Linked DNA regions of Homo sapiens: regions 1, 2, 3 and 4 are each linked to region 5. Evidence: promoter capture Hi-C in 16 types of primary human blood cells and fetal thymus (Javierre and others, 2016). All regions are on one chromosome and are shown on one strand. Each heading gives the region's core, a stretch centred on a gene start or on the middle of the fragment in contact. The rest is flanking DNA. Distances are from core to core; before and after follow the strand shown.

What was found. Contacts are between HindIII fragments. The CHiCAGO score rates a contact against its expected background, and 5 or more counts as called.
Region 1: the fragment with the promoter of SNU13 here is called in contact with the fragment with the promoter of CENPM in region 5 in 11 of 17 cell types (endothelial precursors, total CD8 T cells, naive B cells and 8 more); the score reaches 11.0 in endothelial precursors.
Region 2: a contact is called between a fragment that was not itself captured here and the fragment with the promoter of CENPM in region 5, in 1 of 17 cell types (endothelial precursors). The highest score is 5.1, in endothelial precursors.
Region 3: a contact is called between a fragment that was not itself captured here and the fragment with the promoter of CENPM in region 5, in 5 of 17 cell types (total CD4 T cells, naive CD8 T cells, megakaryocytes and 2 more). The highest score is 5.8, in total CD4 T cells.
Region 4: a fragment that was not itself captured here is called in contact with the fragment with the promoter of CENPM in region 5 in 10 of 17 cell types (activated CD4 T cells, total CD4 T cells, naive CD8 T cells and 7 more); the score reaches 10.4 in activated CD4 T cells.

Annotation. Positions count from the first base shown.
Region 1 is chr22:41,687,462-41,690,162 of GRCh38, reverse strand. It overlaps SNU13 (small nuclear ribonucleoprotein 13), which reads left to right and starts at 1,296. Exons shown (of 3, transcript NM_001003796.2): 1 at 1,296-1,369. The coding sequence starts at 1,367. It also overlaps the pseudogene C22orf46P. RefSeq lists enhancers at 1,197-1,376, 1,927-2,096 and a silencer at 1,616-1,815. The HindIII fragment of the contact is 2,689 bases long and covers 1-2,233 here.
Region 2 is chr22:42,370,706-42,373,654 of GRCh38, reverse strand. It overlaps LOC124905126 (a long non-coding RNA gene), which reads right to left. Exons shown (of 2, transcript XR_007068114.1): 2 at 1,829-2,193. Among named protein-coding and RNA genes, the nearest start is that of LINC01315, 3.0 kb to the right of the region's middle. The HindIII fragment of the contact is 1,667 bases long and covers 793-2,459 here.
Region 3 is chr22:41,656,486-41,659,241 of GRCh38, reverse strand. It overlaps XRCC6 (X-ray repair cross complementing 6), which reads right to left. Exons shown (of 13, transcript NM_001469.5): 10 at 2,210-2,339; 11 at 890-990. Among named protein-coding and RNA genes, the nearest start is that of SNU13, 31 kb to the left of the region's middle. The HindIII fragment of the contact is 1,473 bases long and covers 756-2,228 here.
Region 4 is chr22:42,439,365-42,442,064 of GRCh38, reverse strand. LOC101927344 (a long non-coding RNA gene) reads right to left here. Exons shown (of 6, transcript NR_188414.1): 2 at 1,461-1,574. Among named protein-coding and RNA genes, the nearest start is that of NFAM1, 8.3 kb to the right of the region's middle. RefSeq lists enhancers at 1,349-1,428, 472-1,471. The HindIII fragment of the contact is 3,228 bases long and covers 1-2,700 here.
Region 5 is chr22:41,945,880-41,948,579 of GRCh38, reverse strand. It overlaps CENPM (centromere protein M), which reads left to right and starts at 1,428. Exons shown (of 6, transcript NM_024053.5): 1 at 1,428-1,560; 2 at 2,084-2,163; 3 at 2,575-2,667. The coding sequence starts at 1,504. It also overlaps a transcript of SMIM45 not described here. RefSeq lists an enhancer at 1,415-1,624. The HindIII fragment of the contact is 15,549 bases long and covers 1-2,700 here.

The sequences.
Region 1 (2,701 bases), core at 47-2,546, 260 kb after region 5:
GTGGGGGAATTACTTTTCCCATCTTAGGATCAGTGTTGGTGGGAAAATAAATGTTACCCTGAAGACTCTTTTACCCAAAAGTTCTATTCAAAATATTAAATATCTGAGCAGGCAGGGACGTCAGCCAATTATAATGAGCCAGGCCTTAACTGTTTAGTGGCTGGAATTTTTTTTTTTTTTTTTGAGACCGAGTTTCCACTCTTGTTGCCCAGGCTGGAGTGCAATGGCGCGATCTCGGCTCACTGCAACTTCCACCTCCCAAGTTCAAGCGATTCTCCTGCCTCAACCTCCCGAGTAGCTGGGATTACAGGCATGCGCCACCACGCCCGGCTAATTTTGTATTTTTAGTAGAGACGGGGGTTTCTCCATATTGGTCAGGCTGGTATCGAACTCCCAACCTCAGGTGATCCGCCCGCCTCAGCTTCCCAAAGTGCTGGGATTACAGGCGTGAGCCACCGCACCCGGCCCTCTTTTTTTTCTTCTTTTTTTTGAGACGGAGTCTCACTCTGTTGCCCAGGCTGGAGTGCAGTGTGCAGTGGTGCGATCTCGGCTCACTGCAAGCTCCGCCTCCGGGGTTCACGGCATTCTCCTGCCTCGGCCTCCCGAGTAGCTGGGACTACAGGCGCCCGCCACCATGCCCGGCTAATTTTTTGTATTTTTAGTAGAGACGGTTCACTGTGTTAGCCAGGATGGTCTCGATCTCCTGACCTAGTGATCCGCCTGCCTCAGCCTCCCAAAGTGCTGCGATTACAGGCGGGAGCCACCGCACCCGGCCGGCCTTTTTTTTTTTTTTTTTGAGAGTCTCGCTCTGTCGCCTCAGCTGGAGTGCTAGAGTGCAGTGGCATGATCTCAACTTACTGTAGCCTCCACCTCCGGGGTTCAAGCGATTCTCCTGCTTCAGCCTCCTAAGTAGCTGGGGTTACAGGCGCCCGCCACCACGCCTGGCTAATTTTTGTATTTTTTAGTAGGGACGAGGTTTCGCCATGTTGGCCAGGCTGGTCTCGAACTCCTGTCCTCAGGTGATGCGCCCGCCTCGGCCTCCCAAAGTGCCGGGATTACAGCCATAAGCCGCTGCGGCCGGCCGGTGGGTTACTTTTTGAATGTTTAATTCATTGTTTCTGCCAATAATTTGTACTAGGCAGCTCATAAGAACGCCAAAGTACGTTCCTTCTTCGACACAGGGCCAGTTTCCGCGCCAGTGCCCCCGTAGAGGGCGGGGCCCACTCGCTCGCGTAGCGTCACCTTCGCTTCCTGCCGCGCGGGGCCATTTCCGCTGCTGCTTCTGTGAGTTTTTCCGGTGCACGCGAGTGCTTCTGAAACGTCAGCTGCGCTCCCCTAGGAGTGCTGAGCCCGCGGAACCGCAGCCATGGTGAGTGCGTGCGCCGGCCGAGGGACCGGGAAGCGGGAGACTCAGGGTTGCGTTCACTCCCTAGCCTGTTAGATGGAGGCTTAGAGCCTGCGCCGTCTCATCCGCCGGCGTTGGGTCTTAACCGCCGGGCCCTTAGTTAGAACCCCAGCAGCGGCGGGGTCCCAGCAGCCTGGCCCGAGGTTAGAACTCAGGAAACCTTAGGATCCCCGCAGCTGTGTTGCTTTGCCGCACGGTCTGTTTGCTTGGCAAAAGGCCTGCAGCGAGCGGAGGGGGCATGGCCCAGCCTGGGAGAAAGAGACCAACCCACGTGGGAGAGGGCAAAAAGTTGGGTGAAGAAAACTTGGCTCCAACTTTTTTTTTTCCTTGTTTCTTTTCATACGAAATCTACGATGGCGTGGGACCCTGGGATTCGGATCAACCTCTCCTACCCACCCTACCTCACCCCACCCCCGTTGCTGGGGTTCAGGAGGAGATCTCCCATGGGTCTGCGCTTAGTGCCCGCCGCGAGTCACACGCGCCAGGGACCTAGAGGAGCCTTTGGCATTTGGGGGCTGTGGGGAACATGAAGTGAGCGCGACTCACGGCCTGGAGTGCAGGAAAGGCTTCTCCTGCAAGGCGGTGGCTTCAAAAACCAGAAGTCTGGTAGCACCACGTGCGGCGTCTCTAAACTCTTGGTCGTCTCTGACTTTTAAACATCTAGGGAAAGTTCTAAAACGTGTGTCCTGGCGTAGTAGTTTTGGTTGGCACTTGGTGAGGAGGGAAGAATTTGTAAAGCACTGTAACTTCTATAGTTAATCCTTCCAGTGGAGCTTGGATCCCGGCGGTAGCACTCCCCACAAACCTCCTCCCATGCATTTTGAAGCTTAGTACGTGGCTGAGCCTAGAACTTGAAGCTTCCAAACTCAGTGCTCGCTTTAACGCAGCTCCCTGAAACGTTTTGGAATCGGATGGTCTCAGGTTGAACTTTGCAGTTTTCCTCAACTGTAAAATGGGGATGACAGTGCATGAGGGTGTTGTGAGGATCAAATGAAATAAAGCATGGTAAACATCTAGTCCTGATGCTTGGTACAGAGTAAGCACGCAGTATTTGTTGTTCAATCAAAACCTTGCAAGTTTTGGCTGTCTGGTGTACAGCGAAACCAAACTGATCATGCTAGGTAGGGATTTAGGTTGGCTGGTGGTATGATATCATTCGTTAATTTATTTAACCCCTGAAGAAATTGAAAGGCAAATAAATACACCCTAAGCAAGTTTCAATTAGTGTTTATAAGCTAGTTTGGTTTTAAAATTGAGTTTAACTTTTTTGTTGACTAATAGTGAAACATTTAGGTA
Region 2 (2,949 bases), core at 377-2,876, 420 kb before region 5:
GCCTCGGTCATGACCTCCATGCTCACCCTGACCTTGGGCCTCTTCTACGGCTCCCAGCACTGACTTCACCAGGCTGGAGTCATCTTCCAGTTGTTCAGGGGCAGGCACCAGCTCTGGGGCAGTGTGGAAGAGGAAAGTGAGGCTTGGAGGGGGGCACTGAATGCTCAAGATCACTCAGCTGGCAAGAGGCAGAGCCGCTGAATGTGTGGCCATGAGATGACCAGGGCACCCAAGCCGAAGGGCTCGTGAGGAAAGAGGCCACACTGGCTGCCCACTGCCCCTAGGTTCCAATCCCGGCACCCATCTGGGCCCACATAGAATTGGACCATTCCTGGTGGGCTTGGCTTTAGGAAAACCTGATAGCAAATTCCAAACCAATAAGAGCAAATAAATGAGGGGTGATTACCGACAATAAGAGAGGATACACTGCAGGGTGCCTCCAAATCGCATCTCCTCCAGTACGTTTTAAGTGCTTTATAGGTCATTAACTACTTGACAGAGAGAGCCTGACACTTAAAGCAAAGAATTTGGTACCTCTGCCAGGGAAAATCAATCAGAAATGAAGCTAGAGCATCAGAGGCGTTAAGATTTACTGGGTAGGCCAACGGGATTCAATTGACGCAGAATTTTAAGACCCTCTCCACTGTGTAAAGTAAGGCACACTGGTATTTGAAGCCATTTATAAATCCCAAACTAGAATTTAGAAACACTTAACCTCTCCCCTGCCATTTTTGTGTGTGTGTGGATGTTAATGAAATATTTCGAAGACATGGAAAAGTACAGAGATAAGCTTAAGCATCTAAGTCCCCCATCTGACTCTGTCAAATGAAATATTGCAGCTATGTGCAGCTATGATTGAAGCACCCACTATTTTTTTTTTTTTTTTTTTTGAGATGGAGTCTCTGTCTGTCGCCTGGGCTGGAGTGCAATGGTGCAATCTTGGCTCACTGCAACCGCAGCCTCCCAGGTTCAAGCGATTCTCTTGCCTCAGCCTCTCAAGTAGCTGGGACTACAGGTGCGTGCCACCATACCCAGCTAATTTTTGTATTTTTAGTAGAGACAGGGTTTCACCATGTTGGCCAGGCTGGTCTCGAACTCCTGAGCTCAGGTGATCCACCCACATCGGCCTCCCAGAGCGCTGGGATTACAGGTGTGAGCCACTGTGCGCAGCCAACAGGTGCACCTCTAGAAAGAGGGTGCTTCGGATGGGCACAGTGGCTCATGCCTGTGGTCCCAGCACTTTGGGAGGCTGAGGAGGGAGGATCACCTGAGGTCAGGAGCTCGAGACCAGCCTGGCCAACATAGTGAAACCCTGTCTCTACTAAAAATACAAAAATGAGCTGGGTGTGGTGGTGCATGCCTGTAGTCTCAGCTACTAGGGAGGCTGAGGCAGGAGAATTGCTTGAACCCAGGAGGCGGAGGTTGCAGTGAGCGGAGATCGTGCCACTGCACTCCAGCCTGGCAGCAGAGTGAGACTCTGTCTAAAAAAAAAAAAATTGGTGGGGCATGGGGGCATGCACCTGTAGTCCCAGCTACTTGGGAGGCTGAAGCAGGAGAATCACTTGAACCTGGGAGGTGGAGGTTGCAGTGGACCAACATTGCACTACTGCACTCTAGCCTGAGAGACAGAGCGAGACTCCGTTTCAAAAAAAAAAAAAAAGTGCACCTGTTTTTTCTTCCTGGCTTTTCAAATCCTTTCTGTCTTCTGGCTCTGCCTTGTCAGGGAGACCTAAGCTGACCACCCACCCCTGCCCAAGACATCACTCCTTCCTCTGAAATCAGAGTGCAATTACTGCCTCTTTAATTAGCTTGGCAATTAATCACCAGCTGCTTATGAAACAGCTTTTATTGTCCTTGTCCATCTTGGGATGTGGGTGGGAATGAGGACCAGGCAGGAAGAGGGAGGAGGGGCAGGCAGGCAGGGCCCTGCTCTGGCACCAGGCTGGGCAGGGTCAGCTGAAAAGGCCTGATGTCCAGAGGGTCGGCTGCCTCCCAACTCTGTTTCCACAGCTGCTAGGCACCAGGATCTGTGTAGTCCCAAGAGAACAGTGGGCAGCGACAGGGACATCCACCTTGTGCAGCCCTGGGGCCTCTGCTCTCGATGTTCCCTACTAATCAAAATGTTCTTTCCTCATTGAGCCTTGTTGAACTGTGTCCCCCAGAAAGATATATTGAAGTCCTGACCGCCGATACCTGTGAATGCAACCTGATTAGGAAATAGGGTCTTTGCAAATGTAATCTTCTTAAGATGAGGTCATACCGGATTAGGATGGGGCCTAAATCTAATGACTGATGTCCCTATAAGAAGGCCATGTGAAGACAGATGCAGGGAGCACTCATTCACCACACCACCAAGCCAGCTCCTCCTCTTCATGCCTCAATCTGGCTGCCTATGGGAGACAGGCTCTCAGCATTTTTCTAGTTGATTAACCCTTCTCTGCCCAACTCCGGGAGAAGCTTCTACACCTTCCTTTGTCAGAGGAAGCCCTCTCCCCCATCCCATCTCATACATCATCTCTCAATCAAAAGGACCTACTTGGGGGGGCATCCCAAGGACCCCCTCTCCATCAGAGAACAGCAGCCGGGAAGTCAGTCTGCTTCACGGTGCTCCCCATGACTTCCACAGGAAAATCCACCCCAAATGCCCCAAACTGTCAGAGTGGGCAATGCAGCATGGTTTGAGCAGAGTGCTTCCAACTTCCCCTGTGATGGGGGTGCAGAGGGGGGTTCAGGGGATGGATTCCCAGGAAGGGAAAGAGCCCAGCAGGTTACCAGGAATTTAACATGGAAGCAGAGGCTGTGTCATTCATACTGCCAAGCACAGTGCTGGGTATAGCATGTTCAAGCATGTTCATTTAAATGACACTTTTTTTTTTTGAGACAGAGTTTCGCTCTTATCACCCAGGCTGGAGTGCCAGTGGCATGACCTCAGCTCACTACAACCTCTGC
Region 3 (2,756 bases), core at 243-2,742, 290 kb after region 5:
ACAGCTAAGCAGGCACCACAGTAACAATGGTCCAATAACTCTTCTGCTTTTAACACTGGGGCTATTTTGTCTAAAATAGATCATTCTGAGACCAGCCGGGCCATCATGGCGAAATCCCGTCTCTACTAAAAATACAAAAATTAGCCGGGCGGGGACCAACTGCTCGGGAGTCTGAGACACGAGAATAGCTTGAACCTAGGAGGCAGACGTAAGCCACTACGCCCGGCTGCGAGTCGCTGGATTCTAAACCCAAATCCACCACTTATTTCCTCTTAAATTATTTATTGATTTTTTGTTTTTGTTTTGTTTTTTGAGACAGCGTCTCGCTCTGTCACCAGGCTGGAGTGCAGTGGTGCAATCTCGGCTCATTGCAGCCTCTGCCTCCTGAGTTCAACCGATCTTCCTGCCTCAGCCTCCCGAGTAGCTGGGACTACAGGCACACGCCACCACACCCAGCTAATTTTTTGTATTTTTAGTAGAGACAGAGTTTAGTAGAGACAGAGTAGAGACATGTTGGCCAGGATGGTCTCAATCTCTTGACCTCGTGATCCACCCGCCTCGGCCTCCCAAAGTGCTGGGATTACAGGCATGAGCCACCGTGCCCAGCCTCTTATATTATTTTTTAAATTTCACCAGCATGTAGTCACAGGGCGGCCTAGTGCAGAGGCAGGTCTCAGAAGCCTGACACTCTCCTCCTCTCACTATGGAACCAGCCAAATCTGTTCCCTGGCTGTTTAAGCTGGTCTGGAAAAGCTTCCAAACAGAGGGGGTCTGGGGAATGAGGTTAAGTGTTTAGAGAGGACTGGGAAATGCACCCAAATTACTGGTGCAGAGTGGAACCAGTAAGAAAGCCTCCCATGAAAAGAACTACTCTATTCAACCTCCTTACATGTCAGGTCCACTGCTTGTTCCGGCTCCATCAAATCCAAGGCCAAGGCCTCCAGGTTCCTGAAGTGCTGCTGCAGCACGGGGTTCTCAAAGCTGTCACTTCTGTTAAAACAATAATGTAACTCAACTGAAACATGACAATTTAAACATTGAAAAAATTAGAATAAAACCACCTGAGATACTACAGGTCCGGGGTGAGCTGAGAAAAACACCCCAAGTAAAACAGTTGAGGTCAGGTGCAGTAGCCCATGCCTGTAATCCCAGCACTTTGGTAGGCCAAGGTAGGCGGAATGCTTGAGTCTAGCAGTTCAAGACCAGCTTGGACAACATGGTGAGACCCTGTCTCTACAAAAAATTTAAAAATCAGCCAGGCATGTTGGTGCACGCCTGTGGTCCCAGCTACTCAGGAGGCATAGGCAGGAAGACTGCTTGAGTCCAGGAGATCGAGGCTGCAGTGAGCCATGATCGTGCCACGGTACTCCAGCCTGGATGGCAGAGCAAGACTTTGTCTCAAGTCAACTTAGAAAGCAAACCAGCCTGGGCACCCTGGCTCATGCCTGTAATCCAGCACTTTGAGAAGCTGAGGCAGGCGGATGGCTTGAGCTCAGGAGTTCCAGACCAGCCTGGGCAACATGGTGAAACTCCGTCCCTACAAAAAATACAAAAATTAGCCAGGTGTGGTGGTGCAAGGGTATGGTCCCAGCTACTCAGGAGTCTGAGGTGGGAGAATCACCTGAGCCCAGGGAGGTCAAGGCTGCAGTGAACTACAGTAACACCACTGCAATCAAACCTGGGTGACAAGAGACCCTGTCTCAAAATAATAATAATAATAATAATAATAATAATAATAATAATAATAATAAATTTTTAAAAATGACATGTGAAAAAAATTACGTTTAGTGTCCCATTATGCAGGCTCTGAGAGTTGGTCTATTATATATGTGAGAGGGAATGACTTGAATTACTTAATCATTCTTTTAAGCCTTTAACAATTTACACTAGATTTATTTACTTTTGCTCATTGTGGAATAACAAACACAATCAAGGAGAAGGGCGAATAAGAATCCTGCTATTTTTTCAAATTTGTTCAACCAACTAATCTGGCTAAGTACAGCACAACAGAGAAACCACAAAATCCCAGAGTCTCCAACATAATAAAAGGTTCCATTCTCTATATGGCTTTCAAAAAACTATTAATAACAAGTAGTAATCTGTCAGTTTGCTGAAAAGAGTAGTGCCATTCTCTTGGCCTATGCCCAAGCTGTTTCTAATAAGATTTTCAACTCAGGAGGCAGTTCCAGAAAGCCTGAGATTGACTCACCTGTATGTGAAGCGAAGCTTCTCAACGATAGCCTTCATCTTGCCCACCTGCTCTGGAGTTGCCATGATTTTTTCAGTAAAGGGCATCTTCCTTTTATCATCAGCAAAGGGTAAAAAGACCAGCTGGAAGCCTGAAGAAAGGAGATAAATTTTCTTTGATTTGACTTCAAGTGTTGCAGTCACTTGTTTCTCAGCTCCAAATTCTTCCTTTTATGTCCTGTGGTGCTGGGGCTGGGGCCCCGTAGGCCCCATTTCTTGAACTCCACCAGCTGGTTTTTGTTATCATCTGCCTAACAGACTCCCTCTGCAGTTTCCAGAAGACTGCAAGGGAGGAGGGGTGCCCCTTCCTGTATACAGTAGATCCCTTATCCCTGGGGAATATGTTTGAAGAACCCGGGAGGATACCTGAAACCTCGGACAGCACCAAACCTGACTGCCGTCAATTGAAACATGTTTGTCCATGTCATACGTTCATAAATTTAATATTTAATGTTTTTTTCCATCTTTTTTTTTTTTTGAGATGGAGTTTCACTCTTGTCGCCCAGGCT
Region 4 (2,700 bases), core at 162-2,661, 490 kb before region 5:
GACTAACATGGAGAAACCCTGTCTCTACTAAAAATACGAAATTAGCTGGGCGTGGTGGCACATGCCTGTAATCCCAGCTACTCGGGAGGCTGAGGCAGGAGAATAGCTTGAACCTGGGAGGCAGAGGTTGTGGTGAGCGGAGATTGCACTTTTGCACTCCAGCCTGGGCAACAAGAGGGAAACTCCATCTCAAAAAAAAAAAAAAAAAGAAAAATAAGGGAATAATCTGAGCTCCACAGGGGGCTGTGAGGTCTGGTGTGTGTGCAGCACCTGGAGTACTCTGGATTCCTTCACCTCTGCCATTCTTTGCCCCTTCCCTCGATCTTTCCTGCTCTGTGGCCCACCCTGTGGTCTCCATGCCTTCTGCTCAGTGCAGGGCTATTACCCTGGCCAGACATCCTTAGGGAGAATAGATCCCAGAACCTGATCATGTCTTTTTCTAAATCAAAATGACGAGTATACAATCTCAGCCACTGAGCAAGGTCCTGGAATGAGGATGAGACAGAGGAGAAGGGCAGTCAAGGGGTCTTCCAAAACAGCTCCCTTCCTAAGGGCCACCCCGAATGGGTCCCTGCGAGGAAGGAAGGGCCTCGCCATGAGGGAGGCCCAGGTGGTTCAGCATCACCAGGCACCCACAAGACAAGCATGTAGGGACGGCGCCCTCATCCCAAGAGGAAGGAAGGGCCTCCTGGGGCCCAGAAGGGGCACAGCAGAGGGTATCCTGCAGCTGGCTGGCCCTGACCCCAGCTGGAAGGAAATGGGGGACCCGAAAGGAGCCAGGGGTCTCCCAGGAGCCATGTGTCCATGGTGAGGGGACCACAGTTCCAACCTCCATCCTGGTCAGACCCTATCTGAACCGGAAATGCAGGCTGGGGTCCCCCACGGAGAAGGGTCTGGAAGCCATGTTGGGAGGACAAACAGGACCAGGGATGTCTTGGCCTGGAGAAGGGGAGGCTGGGTGGCCACAAACCCCCATCCACACCTGCCGGAGATGCTGGGGAGAAATTCCCAGGGAAAGGGCTGTTTACCAGGCCAGGCTGTGGGCAGTGGGGAAACAGAGTAGAGGGGGCGGGCAGGGGACCGAGCCTCGAGGCCTCCTGCGAACCAGGGACCCGGTGGGGAGGGGCTGGTGACCCAGGAAACCCCTCCTTCCCCTAGCCCGCCTCCTGGGCTTCTGGGCCTGCGTCCAGGTGGCTGGGCCTCGCCTGTGCAACTGGAAGTGAGGGGAGAGGAGGGTCCAGCGGGGTGTTCTCTTTCCAGGTGCTCTCAGCGCTTGCCCAGGCCGCCATGGGGCTCCCTTAACACCCACGGAGTTGAACGAAAGAGAGACCCCGGATCCGAAGCCACCTGCCCTCTTTCCTCTGCCCCCTAGCCAGCTCCTTCCCACCTAGTGCCAAACGCAGCCTCTCAGATTCTGACCTCCACTTTCCACAAGCCGGTGTGACCCAGGTCCTACTTACCTTCTATTAAATTTAGTAGAATCCACCGAGGTGCCCTTTTCACCTGCGCATTAAGGGAAAGGGCTCCACCTTCATGCATTCATTCAAGAGATTCCTGATTTTCGGCCTAAGCACCTGCAGAGAGGAAGTGGGGCCTGAAGCAGGACCGGGGAAAAAGTGAGGGGCTGCAGCGAGCTCCGGTCTAGCTGGGAAGCACAGACACCTCTAGAGGTTATCCCCAGGCAGTGTGCCTGATCCTAGGATTCGAACCCTAGCCCCACCTCCACTGGCCACTTCACCTTAAAACAGTGACTTCCCTTCTCTGAGCCACAGTTTCCTCATCCGCAAAATGCAGACACAATAGCACCTGCCTCGCAGCATGGCTTAGAGAACAGACTCAGCCAAGCGTCTGGCAAGTAATCCTTTCCCACCTTACGCCACCTCTTCCTCATCTTGCCCTCACCCTCACTCACTGGCCATGCCCAGCAGCTGGTGGCCCAGTGCCCAGAAGGGGGTCAGAAAGCTGTGGCCACCTGAAGCCAGGCCCTGGGGTGGGTGACCAAGGGCCTCCCGCCCACTCCTAGGCCAGCCGCTCCTGGCAAGTGCCCAAGTCCCCGTCCCACGGGCAGCTCAGAGATGGCCTGGCCCCATGCTCCTTGTTTGACACAAAATCAGCAGACACCGGGAGGAAAGAAAAGAAAAGGGAAGCTCAAGAGAAACAGTGACTCAGGCACAGGCTCCCTGCCAGGCAGACAAAAACGCCCAAAACACTTTCGTTTTGCCCCAGGGGAGTTTCCTGGGGAGGGGGCTTCTGCAAGTGAAGCCTTTGGTCACCTGTGACCTGCTGGAAAGATCATGGTCCAGAGATCCAAAGGCGGATTTTCCCTCCCTCTGATTCTATTCCGACGATGGAGGGCAGACTGGGATTACTGTTGATCTGCACACCCCTGGGAGATTTCTGGTCCTAAAACAGCATCTTGCCTGTAGTCCCAGCTACTCAGAAGGCTGAGGCAGGAGAATCACTTGAACCCGGGAGGCGGAGGTTGCAGTGAGCCAAGATCGCACCATTGCACTCCAGTCTGGGCAACAGGAGTAAAACTCCGTCTCGAAAAAACAAACAAACAAACAAAAACAAAACAGCATCTCCTCAGTGTTGCGGGGCATTTTGTACAGAATGGATGTTCGAGTCCAATAAGTGCAGGAAGTCTCTAACTTCCCAAGGAGCTGTCTCCCAGAGAAAGCCGTTCCCACTCAGAAACCG
Region 5 (2,700 bases), core at 179-2,678:
ACACCCCATGCCATGAGGAATGAAAGCCGTATCTGTGCTGAGGGCAGTGGCTCTATGGGGCCATTTACGTCCTGATCTTTCTGAGCAAGACACAGTTAGTTTAGTCTGCAGTAAGAAGGATTTAGGCTAGACAGTGTCTCTGCTCTCCCAGTTATTACAACAATGAACACACTGTTATCATTGTCTATCCCACCCCCATCAAACTAAGTTAATCAATAATGTCTGATTCAACTGACTTCCTAGGGTAGGGCATTGGGTCTGGGCATAGGAAATGATGAATGAATGACTGCTGAGAATGAATGGATGAATGTAATCCATCCATTCACTCAACAAATATTTATTAACTACGATGTACCAGGGACTTTTAGAGTGCTGGACATACAAAGTGACAAAGTCTCTAACCTCTTGTTTCTTACATTTTAGATGTAGAGACAGTGAACAAGTTATTATATAACTGTTGGCAGAACCAGTTTGCTATGGGCCCTGAGCGTCCCTGCATGTTCTTGCTGGGTATGTCAAGAAAGCAAGACCCTGACAGCTCTGTACTCAGGCTGTGTTTGCAGCAAGGAACCTTGAAAGATGAGGTAAAGTCTCCCATTGGACAAAGAACAGCATGCTTACCACTCACTGTAAAAGCAGTCAATTGGCAGGGCCTGCTGGTGTGCAGCGGTAGTCCCAGCTACTCAGGAGGCTGAAGCAGGAGGGCTGCTTGAGGCCAGGAGTTTACGACCCACCTGGGCAACATGGCCAGATCCCCATGGTGGCACTTGCCTGTAGTTCCAGCTACTCAGGAGGCTAAGCCAGGAAGATGACTTGAGCCCAGGAGTTTGAAGCTGTAGTGAGCTATGATCGTGTCACTATAGTCCAGCCTGGGCAACAAAGTGACGCTCCAAAAAAAAAAAAAAAAAAAGGGCCAGGCACGGTGGCTCACGTCTGTAATCTCAGCACTCACTTTGGGAGGCCGAGGCGGGATCACTTGAGGCCAGGAGTTTGAGACCGGCCTGGGCAACTTGGAGAAACCCCGTCTCTACTAAAAATAAAAAAATAAGTCGGGCGTGGTGACGCGCGCCCGTAGTCCCAGCTCCTTGGGAGGCTGAGGCAGGAGAATCGCTTAAACTCGGGAGGCAGAAGTTGCAGTGAGCCGAGATTGCGCGCATTGCACTCCAGCCTGGGCCACAAAGCGAGACTCTGTCTCAAAAAAAAAAAAAAAAAGTACTGTGTATGAGCATGAATGAATGAAAGTGAACAAAGGAATCACTAAAAACCTGCTTACTGTGGAGCGTGGAACCAAAGGCCTGTCCACCACGTGTTCCACGGGTAGCGCTGGAACGCCCCTCAGAAAAGGAGATAAAGGTTCGGTTCCTTTAAGAGGCCCCGTCCCGTCCCGCGAAGCCCCGCCTATAAGGAGGCACGTGCCCCCAGGCCGCGCTCTAGGGGCTGGACTCAGGGCGGTTTGAAAGATCGGCGCGCACCGCAGGAGCAACGGTTGGTCCTGCGGCTGTGATGTCGGTGTTGAGGCCCCTGGACAAGCTGCCCGGCCTGAACACGGCCACCATCTTGGTAGGTGCAGGCGGCCCTGCTTCCCCCGCCGGTTTTTCCTCCTGGGCGGTGCTTCAGCCACTAGGTCAACTGAGCTCTCTGAGGCGCCAAGCCAGCGCGCGCTACCGTGGCGGGGGCGGGGAATAGGCGGAGAGCCATGCTCTGAACCAATTGGAGTAGCCGCTCTCTGAGGTTGAGGGACGCACCCACCAATAGGTGCTCGGCGGACCCTTTCCCAGCTTCTGATTGGCGAGTTCCCGCGCCTGGAATTGGTTTTCCCGCGTCTGGGGGTCTGGCCTCCTGGAGAGGCCGGCGGTGGGAGCGAGGGTCGGGTAGTAGAGAGTGCGGTGCCCACAGGCCTGCAGCGGGTCCAAACCTCAGGCCCCCAGCCCGTGCCGCTTCGCGGGGTCCACTTCTCGGGAAATGTCCTCCGAGCCGCCTGCTGGCGGTGTCCCGATCCCCCCGGGAGTGGGTCGAAGGGCCAGGCCCTCCCCAGGGGGTGCTGTGCCTAGGGCTCGACTGTCCGCTCTCTCTCCCTGCGCAGCTGGTGGGCACGGAGGATGCTCTTCTGCAGCAGCTGGCGGACTCGATGCTCAAAGAGGACTGCGCCTCCGAGCTGAAGGTGTAAGTAGCCGCGGCTGTGGCCTGGGCCCACGTGTCTCTCACTCCAGAGGGATTCGGTCCTAGCTGCTAAACTCCGAAGCCCAGCGCCCCCTCCTCTGAGGCTGGTCCTTCTCCCAGCATGCAGCGTAGCTGGCTAGTCCCATGCCGTCTTATATCCCAACCTCCCCTTGCCGAGGTGGTGACTAAACAGAGCCCGTTTCTGGCAGAGGGAATCAGACAGGAGTAATCTGAATAGGACCGGACCTGTCCTGCCTCTGTGCTGGCCCAAGGAGTCGTGGCCACAAGAGCCTCGGGTGGCTAGGATGAGGTGGGGAGCCCTTGACGGCCTCTTTCCACATGAAGGGCAGCATTTAAACGGTCGCTATGAGGGGGGTACGGATATCTTGAGTCCTGCAATTTCCTGTTTTTCAGCCACTTGGCAAAGTCCCTCCCTTTGCCCTCCAGTGTGAATCGGCCCCGAATTGACCTGATCGTGTTTGTGGTTAATCTTCACAGCAAATACAGGTGAGAGCCAGAGGAAGGGGCAGTCAGGGCTCA